4 separate regions of the Homo sapiens genome follow, and regions 1, 2 and 3 are each linked to region 4. Evidence: promoter capture Hi-C in 16 types of primary human blood cells and fetal thymus (Javierre and others, 2016). All regions are on one chromosome and are shown on one strand. The core of a region is centred on a gene start or on the middle of the fragment in contact, and the rest is flanking DNA. Distances in the headings are between cores, read along the strand shown.

The links. The method cuts DNA at HindIII sites, captures the fragments that hold promoters and counts their contacts. A CHiCAGO score of 5 or more calls a contact.
Region 1: a contact is called between a fragment that was not itself captured here and the fragment with the promoter of LAMA3 in region 4, in 1 of 17 cell types (naive CD8 T cells). The highest score is 5.3, in naive CD8 T cells.
Region 2: a contact is called between a fragment that was not itself captured here and the fragment with the promoter of LAMA3 in region 4, in 1 of 17 cell types (naive CD4 T cells). The highest score is 6.6, in naive CD4 T cells.
Region 3: a contact is called between a fragment that was not itself captured here and the fragment with the promoter of LAMA3 in region 4, in 2 of 17 cell types (activated CD4 T cells and total CD4 T cells). The highest score is 5.4, in activated CD4 T cells.

Annotation. Positions count from the first base shown.
Region 1 is chr18:24,091,030-24,094,332 of GRCh38, forward strand. All of the region lies in intron 6 of TTC39C (tetratricopeptide repeat domain 39C), which reads left to right. Among named protein-coding and RNA genes, the nearest start is that of CABYR, 46 kb to the right of the region's middle. The HindIII fragment of the contact is 5,261 bases long and covers 1-3,303 here.
Region 2 is chr18:24,114,412-24,117,728 of GRCh38, forward strand. TTC39C (tetratricopeptide repeat domain 39C) reads left to right here. Exons shown (of 14, transcript NM_001135993.2): 7 at 143-236. Among named protein-coding and RNA genes, the nearest start is that of CABYR, 23 kb to the right of the region's middle. The HindIII fragment of the contact is 413 bases long and covers 1,159-1,571 here.
Region 3 is chr18:24,149,248-24,152,636 of GRCh38, forward strand. All of the region lies in intron 3 of CABYR (calcium binding tyrosine phosphorylation regulated), which reads left to right. Among named protein-coding and RNA genes, the nearest start is that of CABYR, 12 kb to the left of the region's middle. The HindIII fragment of the contact is 1,147 bases long and covers 1,149-2,295 here.
Region 4 is chr18:23,687,153-23,690,733 of GRCh38, forward strand. LAMA3 (laminin subunit alpha 3) reads left to right here and starts at 2,301. Exons shown (of 75, transcript NM_198129.4): 1 at 2,301-2,825. The coding sequence starts at 2,532. RefSeq lists an enhancer at 1,660-2,209. The HindIII fragment of the contact is 9,125 bases long and covers 1-3,581 here.

The DNA.
Region 1 (3,303 bases), core at 32-2,531, 400 kb after region 4:
CTCCTGACCTCAGGTTCTCTGTCCGCCTCGGCCTCCCGAAGTGCTGGGATTACAGGCGTAAGCCGCCACGCCCGGCCTTATGATCAATTTGCTTTGACATGGACATCAAGACACGTCAGTGGGCAAAGAATAGTCTTTTCAGCCAGGCACAGTAGCTCAATGCCTATAATCCCAGCACTCTGGGAGGCCAGGGCAGGCAGATTGCTTGAGCTCACAAGTTTGAGACCATCATGGGCTGTGTTGAAACCCCATCTCTACAAAAATTAGCCAGGTGTGGTAGTGCACATCTGTAGGCCCAGCTATTCAGGAGGCTGAGGTGGTAGGATGGCTTGAGCCCGGGGGATGGAGGTTGCAGTAATCAGAGATCATGCCACTGCACTCCAGCCTGGGTGACAAAGCCAGACCATGTGCTGGGACAACTGAGTATTCACAGATGCAAAAGAATGAAGTTGGACCCTTATACTATACAAGAAAATTAACTCAAAGCGGATCATAGACCTAAATGTAAGATCTAAAACTGTAGAACCCTTGGGTTAGGCCTTGGTTTCCTAGACATGACACTAAAAGCACAATGACAAAAGAATAAATAAATTGAACTACATCAAAATGAAACATTTGCGCTATAAACAATACAATCAAGAAAGTGAAAAGACAACCCATAGAATGGGAGAAAATATTTGCAAGTTATATATCTGATACGGGACTTGTATTCTGAATATGTAAAGAACTGTTACAACTCAATAATAAAAAGACAAGCCAATTTAAAAATGGACAATGGGGGCAGGCGCGGTGGCTCACGCCTGTAATCCCAGCACTTTGGGAAGCCAAGGCGGACAGATCACGAGGTCAGGAGATCGAGACCATCCTGGCTAACATGATGAAACCCTGTCTCTACTAAAAAAAAATGCAAAAAATTAGCCAGGTGTGGTAGCGGGCGCCTGTAGTCCCAGCTACTCGGGAGGCTGAGGCAGGAGAATGGTGTGAACCTTGAAGGCGGAGCTTGCAGTGAACCAAGATCGCATCACTGCACTCCAGCCTGGGTGACAGAGTGAGACTCAGTCTCAAAAAAAAAAAAAAAAAAAAAAAAAAAAAAAAATAATAATAATAGACAACGGATCTGAAGAAACATTTCTCCAAGGAAGATAGGCAGTATCATAAATCACTAAGGAAACAAATCAAAACCAAGTAAGCTACTGTTTCACACCCACCAAGCTAACTACAGTAGGCAAGACAGCCAATAGCAAGTGTGGGCAGGATGCAGAGTGATTGGAACCCTCATTCATTGCCAGTGAGAATGTGAAATGGTGTGGCTGCTCTGGACCCAGTTCAACAGTTCCTCAAAATGTCAAACTATATGAAACAGCAATTTCACTCCTAGGAATATGCACAAGAGAAATAAAAACACCACTCCATATTATTATCCATAATAGCCAAAAAGTGGCAACAGCTCAGATGTCTATCAACTGATGAATGGATAAACAACATGTGATACATTCATACAATGGAATATTATTCAGCAATAGAAAGGAATGAAGTACAGATACATACTATAGCATGGAGGAACCTTGAAAACATGTTATGTGTAAAAAGTCAGTCACAAAGACCATATACTATATGATTCCATTTATATGACATCTTTAGGACGGGTACATCTACAGAGGCAGAAAATAGATTATTGCTTGCTTCAGTGTGGAGGTAGGTGAGGGAACAGTGTGGAGTGACTGCTAATGGATACATGGTACATAGTTTCTTTGGGGGAATGAAAATATTTCAGGCAGAGCACAATGGCTCACACCTGTAATCTCAGCACTTTGGGAAGCTGAGGTGAGTGGACCAGTTGAGCCCAGAAGTTTGATACAAGCCTGGCAATGTGGCGAAACCCCATTTCTACAAAAAATTAGCTGGGCGCACAGCTGTAGTCCCAGCTCTTTGGAAGGCTGAGGTGGGAGGATCATCTGAGCCCAGGATGTTGAGCCTGTAGTGAGCCGTGAAGGCACGAGACCCTGTTTCAAAAATATGTATATTTTAAACTTAGATTGTAGTAGTAGTTGCATAGCTATAATATTACTCTATGAGTATTCTAAAGACTTATTAAATTGTACACTTTAAGTGGGTGAATTTTGTGATTTTTGAATTTTATCTCAATAAAGATGTTTTATAAAAGTATTGGCCGGGTGCAGTGGCTCACGCCTATAATCCCAGCACTTTGGGAGGCCGAGGCGGGCAGATCACGAGGTCAGGAGATCGAGACCATCCTGGCTAACATGGTGAAACCCCGTCTCTACTACAAATACAAAAAACTAGCTGGGCGTGGTGGCGGGCGCCTGTAGTCCCAGCTACTTGGGAGGCTGAGGCAGGAGAATGGCGTGAACCCAGGAGGCAGAGGTTGCAGTGAGCCTAGATCGTGCCACTGCACTCCAGCCTGGGTGACAGAGTGAGACTCTGTCTCAAAAAAAAAAAAAAAAGTATTGAGAGTGTGCATTTTCTGTATGATTTTATACAATCTCTTTTTCTTCGGATATAAGCTACTGATTAAACCAAGTTTGATGACTTTCAACTAAGATATACAGGCATACATCAGAGACATTGCGGGTTTGGTTCTAGACCACTGCACTAAAGCAAATATCACAATATAGTGAGTCACATGAATTTTTTGGTTTCCCAGTGCATATAAAAGTTAAGTTTACATTGCACTGTAGTCTGTTAAGTGTGCAGTAGCATTATGTCTAAAAATACAATGTGTATACCTTAATTAAAAAACTTTATTGCTAAAACTATCAATCATCTGAGCCTTCAGCAAGTCGTAATCTTTTGGCTGGTGGAGGGTGTTGCCTAGATGTCGATGGCTACTGGCTGATCAGGATGGTGGTTGCTGAAGGTGGGGGTGGCTGTGGCAATTTCTTGAAGTAAGGCAACAGTGAAGTTTACCCCGCCGATTGACTCTTCCTTTCACGAATGATTTCTCTGTAGAATGTGATGCTGTTTGATAGCATTTTACCTACAGTAGGACTTCTTTCAAAATTAAGTCAATTCTCTCAAACCTTACCACTGCCTTATCAACTAAGTCTATGTGTTATTTTAAGTCTTTTGTTGTCATTTCAGCAGGGTTCACAGCATCTTCACCAGGAGATGCCATCTCAAGAAACCATTTTCTTTTCTCACTCATCTTAAGCCCCTCCCATCTCTTCATGTTTTGTCCTGCGATTGCAACAAGTCAGTCCCATCTTCAGGCTCCACTTCTGATTCTAGTTTTCTTGCTATTTCTACCACATTGGCTGTTTCTTCCTCCACTGAAGTCTTGAA
Region 2 (3,317 bases), core at 115-2,614, 430 kb after region 4:
CTAGCAATCTTTAAACCACTGTCTTCTATATTGCTTAACCTGTTTAAAATAACTATGAAGGAAAAAGATGCTTTTGAATTATGATGATTGTAATGTTATCGACAGATCTTAGCTGGTAATTCTGTTTTCCTTTTCTCCTTAGTGTCAAATCAACAGTGCCTTGACATCTTTCCACACTGCTTTGGAACTTGCAGTAGACCAGAGAGAAATTCAACATGTCTGTCTGTATGAAATTGGTAAATATGAAATGTCTGTCCAGCCTCTTGTTAAGAAGTAGTATTAATGCAGTATTTTAGCTTTCATGCCATTCAGTGTGTGTCTACAAAATGCTTGGTGCCTTCTGTAGTAAGAAGGACTTCAGTTATTCCCGTAGCACATGCAATGATACTTCTCTCTGATTCTCATTACGTTTTTATAACATTTTTTCTTTACAGCATTTTGATTTTTTAGGATAATAGGTGATGTTAAATGAATTGATTAAATGACCAGAAATACCTTATTGGACTGCATTAGAATTCAAAGCTCTTTGTTCCTCCTTCCCACTAATGTTTACTTGAGAAGAAAAATAGGAGACAGGAGATAGTTGGACTGAAGTCCCAGTGTTTTTCACCAACTAGCTCTGAGACCTTGGACAAGTTGCCCAAACCTTCCTAGCCACATAGTTGCCATTGGAGTTAAGGTGCCTCCCCTTGTAGCAGCTGTGAGGTTTAGATGACATGACGTGTGAAACCTCATGCAGGGGGCCTGGCACGGAAGGCCCTCCATACATGTTAGCTGCCACCTTCTGCTTCTCCCTTACTGGAGAGACAGTCACCAACAAACCTGGAAGGATTTATCTGCCCGAGATTTTCCCCATTCTCCTCCAGAATTGTTGCTATGGGTCTTTGCTGACTGCACTAAAACTCTGATCCTATTACATTAGTAATTGCAAAATCTTTCTGTGTAACAGTTTCTCCATTGTGCTGGGAAGAGTAAACACAACTTTGAACTTGAAACAAAAAAAAATTTTAAATAAGGGACTCAGACTTTTCAGAGTTTCAGCGTAGCTAATGCTACAAGGTCACACCATGTAGCACATAAAAAGGAATGACAGAGGCAAAGAGAAAGGAGAAATGATGAGATAGTGATGAGACTCCAAAGGGAAATTGAGACTTAAAAAGCTTTCTGCAGAGGGACAGGGAAGTGGAGACAGAATGCTCAGGGAAGCAGTTGACACCTGTCAGTTTGGGGGGTCAGGCCCTGTGCTGCCTGCCACTTGCTTTGCCTGCTGTGGACACAATTGTCTTCCTGAATCCTTTTAAGGAAAACTGAAAACCAAAAGATTGCGAACTGCCCAATAAACAATATTACGTTTTAAATGCCTGTTGTGGTTTAAAAAGAGGAAATGATGTATAATCCAGTGGAAAATGTGTTTTTGTGTCTTCTACACTCTGCTGGAGCTCTGCTTAGTAGCCACAATATAGAATGAAATGTGCTTCAAAGAACTTGAATGAAAAACTCTAGCTTTGGTGGCCTTTTGTTGGTGCATCATTTCAAGTCCTATGACAGGATAGGATGTTAGAGCAGAAGGAAGCTTAGAAATCACCCAACCCAGGCCTTAGGAAGGTTAACTCAGGAGTTGGTAGTAACTCGGGCTTCCGATTCAGGCTCGGAAGCTTGAGTTGGTACTTTTTCCTGAGTTATTCCTGACTTATTCCTGAGTTATTCCTGACTTATTTCTGAGTTATTCCTTATTTATTCCTGAATTATTCCTGACTTATTCCTGAGTCAGTGCTTCCTTCCATCTCTATTTTGTATTTAATTCCAATCTTTCTCCGCTATCTATGCTAGGATAAAAATAATCAGCCCAGGCCGGGCACGGTGGCCCACGCCTGTAATCCTAGTCCTTTGGGAGGCTGAGAGGGGCAGATCGCCTAAAGCCAGGACTTCGAGACCAGCCAGGTCAGCATGGTGAAACCCCGTCTTTACCAAAAATACAAAAATTAGCCAGGCGTGGTAGTGGGCGCCTATAATCTCAGCTACTCAGCAGGCTGAGGCGGGCGGGAGAGTGGCTTGAACTCAGGAGGCAGAGGTTGCAGTGACCTGAGATCCCACCACTGCACTCCAGCCTGGGTGACAGAGTGAGAGTGTGTTTCCAAAAAAAGCCCAAATTTTTACTCTAAACTATGTCAATATCACATCCCATAGAATTTGACAGTGAATTTTCTGAAGTGTATATCTCACACACTCTTCCTCCCACGGTTTAAATGGCAAGTCTCAGTTTACACAATTACTTAGTGATGCACCTGATAACAGAATATTTTTTATGGAGGCAGTATCATGTAAAGGAAAGTGTGTTGGATTTTGATCCACAGTTATTCCTTCTTAGTTGTATGGCTTCAGCAGGTAGCTACCTCTTGATACCTTAGTTTTTTTTTTTTTTTTTTTTTTTTAAGACAGGGTCTCACTGTGTCATCCAGGCTGGAGTGCAGTGGTGCAGTCTCAGCTCACTGCAGCCCAGACCTCCCCGGCTCAGGTGATCCTCCCACCCCAGTCTCCCAAGTAGCTGGAATTACAGGCGTGCACCACCACACCTGGCTAATTTTTTATAGAGATGGGGTTTCACCGTGTTGCCTAAGCTGGTCTGGATCTCTTGGGCTCAAGCGATCCTCCCACCTCAGCCTCCCAGAGTGCTAGGATTACAGGCATAGGATTAGTCCTTGCTAATACAAGGACACTATTAGCCCCCTTTGCAAGGTTGTCATAAGGATTAGAGAGCGTTACATGAAGTGCTTACCACAGCATTGGCACACATTAGAGGCTCAGGTGATGGGGGCTACTGTGATGAAAAGTGGGAATAAAATCCTTTACATTTTAGTTGCTGCAGTTCCTTACTAGAATGCCCATTTAACTGTTTCGATCCAGGAAGGTGGGGTTCTTTCACTACCAGTGTGCTGAGGGAAGGTAGGGAAATGCCTAATTTCTCATTGGCTTGCTGTCTAGATCTTATAAAGTTTTGAGAATGAGTGGGCCAAGCACGGTGGCTCACACCTGTAATCCCAGCACTTTGGGAGGCTGAGGTGGGCAGATCACTTGAGGTCAGGAGTTCAAGACCAGCCTAGCCAACATGGCGAAACCCCATCTCTACTAAAAATACAAAAATCAGCTGGGCATGGTGGTGGGTGCCTGTAATCCCAGCTACTTGGGAGGCTGAGGCGGGAGAATTGCTTGAACCCAGGGAGCAGAGGTTGCAGTGAGCCGAGATCGTGCCATTGCACTCCAACCTGGGTGACAGAGCAAGACTCCTTCTCAAAAAAAAAGAAAAAAAAAAAAAAAGA
Region 3 (3,389 bases), core at 472-2,971, 460 kb after region 4:
GCCGATTGGTGTATTTACAATCCCTGAGCTAGACATAAAGGTTCTCTACGGCCCCACCAGAGTATCTAGATACAGAGTGTTGATTGGTGCATTCACAGACCCTGAGCTAGACACAGGGTGCTGATTGGTGTTTACAAACCTTGAGCTAGATAGAGAGTGCCGATTGGTGTACTTACAATCCCTGGGCTAGACATAAAGGTTCTCCACGTCCCCACCAGACTCAGGAGTCCAGCTGGCTTCACCCAGTGGATCCTGCACTGGGGACTGCAGGTGGAGCTGCCTGCCAGTCCTGGTGCCGTGCGCCTGCACTCCTCAGCCCTTGGGTGGTCGATGGGACTGGGTGCTGTGGAGCAGGGGGCGGTGCTCATCGGGGAGGCTCGGGCCGCACAGGAGTCCACGGAGTGGGTGGGAGGCTCAGGCATGGCGGGCTGCAGGTCCCGAGCCCTGCCCCGCAGGAAGGCAGCTAAGGCCCGGCGAGAAATCAAGCACAGCGCCGGTGGGCTGGCACTGCTGGGGGACCCAGTACACCCTATGCAGCCACTGGCCTGGGTGCTAAGCCCCTCATTGCCCGGGGCTGGCAGGGCCGGCCCGCTGCTCGGAATGCGGGGCCCGCCAAGCCCATGCCCACTCGGAACTCCAGCTGGCCCGCAAGCGCGGCGCGCAGCCCCGGTTCCCGCTGGCGCCTCTCCCTCCACACCTGCCTGCAAGCTGAGGGAGCCGGCTCTGGCCTTGGCCAGCCCAGAAAGGGGCTCCCACAGTGCAGCGGTGGGCTGAAGGGCTCAAGTGCCGCCAAAGTGGGAGCCCAGGCAGAGGAGGCGCCAAGAGCGAGCAAGGGCTCTGAGGACTGCAGCACGCTGTCACTTCTCAATGGGGTGAGGGAGACAGAAATAGACCCGGAAGAGAAGAGGGAAGGACAAAGCCAAAGAGATGCCAAACTGCATTTGGTGTTGCTCACTGTGGCCCAGAGAAGTTTGATGGCAGTGCTGGAGAACCAAGAGGAGAAGCAAGGCAAAGGGGCATGGCGTGGGAGAGATTACCTAGGATAGGCTGAATGGCTGTTCTCCCTCAAACTGGCCATGCCCTCTTTTGCTTTCCACCTCCTACAGTCCAAATTACTAGCCACTTTCACACGTTTTCCTTATTTCTAAAGCTTAACCAAAATTACCTAAAAGCCACTGTACCCCATACATATTTCAGTCACTGTGCTGACTACATTGTCATATAATCAATCATCTGCCTGTATCCTTAATCAGAATGAGATCTTTAGGAAGTCTTATTCCTCTTTGATAGATGGTGCAACTAATGTTTGTTGAATGAAGAAAGAATGGATGGAAGGGCAAGGAGGAAGAGGGGAGAAACTAAACCACCTACTTTATAGTCTCTGGTATTCTCATTCCAATCAGTTCAATACAGACTAGTTGGAATCTTTTGTTTTAAATTCTTAAAAGATTACGTACCATACATATTCCTGACTTTAAGCACTCTCTTTGAGCTTCCCACCTCCCACCTCCAGTTTTTTTGTTTTTTTGTTTTTTGTTTTTTTTTTTTTTTGAGACGGAGTCTCACTCTGGCCCCAGGCTGGAGTGCAGTAGTGAGATCTCAGCTCACTGCAAGCTCCGCCTCCCGGGTTCACGCCATTCTCCTGCCTCAGCCTCCCGAATAGCTGGGACTACAGGCGCCCGCCACCACGCCCGGCTAATTTTTTGTATTTTTAGTAGAGACAGGGTTTCACCGTGTTAGCCAGGATGGCCCACCTCCAATTCTTATACAGCCTCTCGTATCTCTTGTTAGGCCCTGCTGCTTATACACTTGTGGTCTTTGATACCTTTCAGATTTCCCATTCCATGCCAGAATATGTCCTTTTCCTTATGCTTCTTGGGCAGTTATGTACTTCAGTACCCTGAATCTCCATGAGTTGTGCCTATTTAAAAAAATACCATATGCTTGGAATTTATCTCTTTATCTTACTGGTTTCATGGAAAATCAGGATTCTGCAATGAATTTTAAAGTTAGCCAATTTGAGTCATTTTATTATACTTAAAAAGGAACTTTTTTACAAGAAGGAATGCCTTTAGTTATGTTCCTAATTCTCAGTGTGTATAGTTTTGTCAGCTTAAGTAGAACCAGATCACCAAAGTCATAGTGGGTTAATCTTCATAAGGTTGAAAGATCAACCTTTAGCAAACCTAGTTTGCAACTTGAAGAAATTCTGTCTTATACAACCGACATAATCTCAAGGTTACAAGTCAGCGACTGTTGTAAGTATTTAAAGCTAACCTTAAAACATTAGAGAAAAGCTTTTTACCCTTCTTAATAAACAGATAATGACATGAACTCAATATAGATTTACATTATATGTGTATAGTAACTAGTAAGTATATATTTGCCAGCATTCTTTCATGTATTCCAAACAAAGCCAAATGGTTGATCTAGTGTTGGCTTTTTTTTTTTTTTTTTTTAAAGACAGAGTCTAGCTTTGTTGCCCAAGCTGGAGTGCAGTGGCACAATCTCAGCTCACTGCAACCTCTACCTCCCGGGCTCAAGCAATTCTCCTGCCTCAGCTTCCTGAGTACCTGGGATTACAGGCATGTGCCACTGTGTCTGGCTTATTTTTGTATTTTTAGTAGAGACAGAATTTCACTATGTTGGCTGGGCTGGTCTCGAACTCCTGGCCTCAAGTGATCTGCCTGCCTCAGCCTCCCAAAGTGCTGGGATTATACGCATGAGCCATCGTGCCTGACCTAGTGTTTGCATTTGCAAAAACACTATAAAAGTTTAAGGCATCTGGTCTCAGTTTTTAATTATGAAAAAGTCCATAAGTATATAACACACACATATAAAGAAAAAACATCCTGTATTTTACCACCCAGTTTAGGAAATAGCCAATTTAATTTTAATCAAAGCTGAATTAAAGATATTTGAGATTTATATTTTTAATTTGATATCACATTTTCAAAACTTTTCTGTATCACTTTTTAAATGGGTACTGATTCACTCCTTCCCCATTTATATGTGATTTAGAGTTTATTCAGTGCTTTCAGATGCATTATTTCACTTAGTGTCCACAGAAACTCCATGAAGTCAGAGTTATAATCCCCATTTTGCAAGTGAGGAGGCCTGAAGCTTGGAACAGTTGACTTGGTCATGCAGCTATTAAATCTCAGAACCAGGACTAGAACCTAGGTTTTCTCATTAACTTTTTTACTATGAGAAAGTTGCAGGGAAGAAAACAATATCATACATTCCCTGGTAAATTGTTAAGGATTCATAATTATAAATGCTTTACCTTTCCAGAATGGTGGTTATAAGGGATGTTTTTGTTTAGCAGGGGACTTCCAGAGACAAAAATATTGAGCTTTTTTAACATTTAAAAAATTAATTACATTTTA
Region 4 (3,581 bases), core at 1,051-3,550:
TAACTATCCCAGTGTGTGTGAAGTAGTATCTCATTGTGGTTTTGGTTTGCATTTTCCTGATGGCTAATGATGTTGAGCGTCTTCCATGGTCATGCTTATCGACCATTTTTATATTTGCCCACTACTTTTTAAAAAATGGTTGAGTTGTAAGAGTTTATTCTGGATATGAATTTCTAATTAGATATATGGTTTGCAAATATTTTCTTCTATCTTGCGGATTGTCTTCTACTTTCTTTTTTTTTTTTTTTTTGAGATGGATTCTCAGTTTCCCAGGCTAGAGTGCAGTGGCACAATCTCAGCTCACTGCAACTTCTGCCTCCTGGGTTCAAGTGATTCTCCTGCCTCGGCCTCCCTAGTAGCTGGGATTTCAGGTGTGCACCACCATGCCCAGCTAATTTTTGTATTTTTAGTAGAAAATTTCATCATGTTGGCCAGGCTGGTCTTGAACTCCTAACCTCAGGCGATCAACCCATCTTGGCCTCCCAAAGTGCTGGGATTACAGGCATGAGCCACTGTGCCTGGCCATCTTTCGCTTTCTTGAGGGTGCCTTGGAAGCACAAAAGTTTTAAAATTTGGTAAGTTTCAATTTATCTTTGTGTGTGTGTGTGTGTGTGTTTTGAGACAGATTTTTGCTCTGTTGCCCAGGTTGGAGTGTAGTGCCATGATCTTGGCTCACTGCAACCTCCGCTTCCCGGGTTCAAGTGATTCTCCTGCCTTGGCCTCTGGAGTAGCTGGGATTACAGGCACATGCCACCATGCCTGGCTAAGTTTTGTATTTTTAGTAGATACAGGGTTTCACCATTTTCCCCAGGCTAGTCTTGAACTCCTGACCTCAGGTGATCCACCCACCTCGGCCTCCCAAAGTACTAGGATTACAGGCATGAGCCACCGTGCCCGGCCCAATTTATATTTTTCTTTTGTTGCTTGCGCTTTTGATATCATAGCTAAGACAGCATTGCTAATCCAAAGTCATGAAGATTTTCTCCTGTGTTTTTCCCTTAGAATTTTATAGTTTTAGCTTTATAGTTTAGCTCTCTAAATGTAAAATTTAGAGATCTTAAATCCATTTTGAGTTAATTTTTGCATATAGTATGAGGTGGGGATCCTACTAGATTATTTTGGGATGTCCAGTTTTCCCAGCAGCGTTTATTAAAAATATTATTCTTTTCCCATTGAATAGTCTTGGCACCCTGTTGAAAATCCAGTGACCATAAATGTAACGGTTTATTTCTGAGCTCTCAATTCTATTCCATTGATCTATGTTTATCGTTATGTCGGTACTACACTGTCTTGATTACTGTAGTTTTGTATTAAGTTTTAAAACTAGGAAGCGTGAGTCCACTGACTTCATTCTTTCTCAGAATCGTTTTGGATTTTCTAGGTCTCTTGCATTTCCACATGAATTTTAGGATCAGCTTGTCAATTTCTGAAAAAAAAAAAAGTCGGGATTTTGATCCCTATCAAAATCCATTGTGTTGAATTGTAGGTTGCTTTAGGAAATATTGCCATCTTCACAATATTGTCTCCTAATCCATGAACATGGGAGGCTTTTCCACTCATTTAGGTCTTTTAACATTTCTTTCAAAGAGGTTTTGCAATTTTTATTGTACAAATATTGCATTCCTCTAATTTCTTCGAGGGCCTATGTGGGTTCTGTTTTAGTAGGGTGTTCTGCATATAAGACCAAGCATCAGTCCGGGGTCGTGGGGGGAGGGGGTCTTCTCTGTTCTGAGGCCATCATGGCAGGTGGCGTACCTCACTCAATCTCTGTTAGCTTATTTGTAAAATTGAGCAGATTAGGCATCTAAAGGATTTCCTCTAAGGTTCCTTTCCAGGTTGGCAAATTACAACTTGCATTATTGGCTGTCTTTTAAATATGTACGTTCCACCACTCCCAGTTCCCTGGCTCAGCCTGTGGCTGCAGTGCCACAGGGATCCTAGGTGCACAGTGTTGAGGAGTTGACGACTCAACACTTGGCTGGGAAATCGAAATGTCTTTGATGTGAGTTCTGTAGGTAGTGGCAGTTTCCTCTGCTCTCAACCAAATTCGTTTACAAGCCTCCTTTACTCTTAGGTCACAGGTGGCTTTTCTGGCTTTGACCTGAGCGGTGAGTATCCAGAGAGGAGAACGATCTAATTAATTTCTGTCCTGGCGCCTGGAGGGTTCGAAGATCCCAGGCTCCCGTTCCCGCCGCCTGGGTGGGAGCCCGGGAACGCCTCTCCCATTCCCCGCCCGCGAAGTTTGCAGCGCGCCTCGCGCGGGAGAGACGCCGTCTGCTGGCGCGCGGCTGAGCGCTGTCAGTTCCTGATCCGGCTGGTGCCCGCTCCAGCCGCGGCAGGTTCCAGAGCTGAGAGGCCACCCCCACGCCGCGGGCTTCCAGCGCGTGGAGCAAGGGGAGCGGCCCCGGCGCCGCCCATATCCCCGGCTGCGCTAGTCCTGGCGCTGCAGGTCCGGGAGGCGCAGGCGGAGAGCGGCGGTGCCCCCGAGCCCCTCTGCGGACGGCTCAGGCGGGAGGACCCCGCGCGGCTGGATGGCGGCGGCCGCGCGGCCTCGGGGTCGGGCACTGGGGCCAGTACTGCCGCCGACGCCGCTGCTCCTGCTGGTACTGCGGGTGCTGCCAGCCTGCGGGGCGACCGCTCGGGATCCCGGGGCCGCGGCCGGGCTCAGCCTTCACCCGACTTACTTCAACCTGGCCGAGGCGGCGAGGATTTGGGCCACCGCCACCTGCGGGGAGAGGGGACCCGGCGAGGGGAGGCCCCAGCCCGAGCTCTACTGCAAGTTGGTCGGGGGCCCCACCGCCCCAGGCAGCGGCCACACCATCCAGGTGAGGGCCTCGGAGAGAGCCGGGGTGGGCGCGCCTTTTCCTTCCCGCGCCGGCCAGACACCCGGAGAAGGGATCGGGCCCTTTCCTCACGCGCGCTAGTGGCTCCGGGCGACTGGGAAGGGCAGCCCCCATCCCCGCGCGCGAGGGCCCACGACCCAGGAGCGATCTCGTGGAAGCACCGCACCGGCACCACCGGCCCGAGGCGAGGAGGGGGAGCACGCGAGGTGACATGAGGCTGTGGTCAGGTTCGGGCTGGTGGAGGGGAAAGTGTGAGGCTGCGCTCTAAGAGATGCAGGCGCCTCGGCCCTTCCCGCCTCCGTCACCCACGGAGCGTCCCGCCAGGCTTGAGTCCTCGAGGGTTCAGGGGCGCCTCCTGCCCCACCTCCCGGGCCTTATTCGGAGAAGTCGGTGGCAATTACCTTCTGTGGTGTATTTTAAGAGAGAATTTTTAGGTTATAACAGCGGTATCACTCTAATGTTACTGAAAAGATTCACTTCACTGCACTGCCTGAAGTGCCACCATCCAGTCATTGGGGGCGAATGAGACCTTAGGCGGACAGAGATAGAAAGGCTCTCAGAGATCCGAGCCTCACCGCGAACACCCGGGGCAAACGACATTGCGGTGCATGTTAAGCAGCATCTTGCAGTGCCTGGCCCTTACTCACAGGTCTCAGCCAGGCAAGAGTGCAGTGGTGCGATCACGGCTCACGGCAGCCTCGAACTCCTGGGCTCAAGGGATCCTCCCGCCTCAGCCTT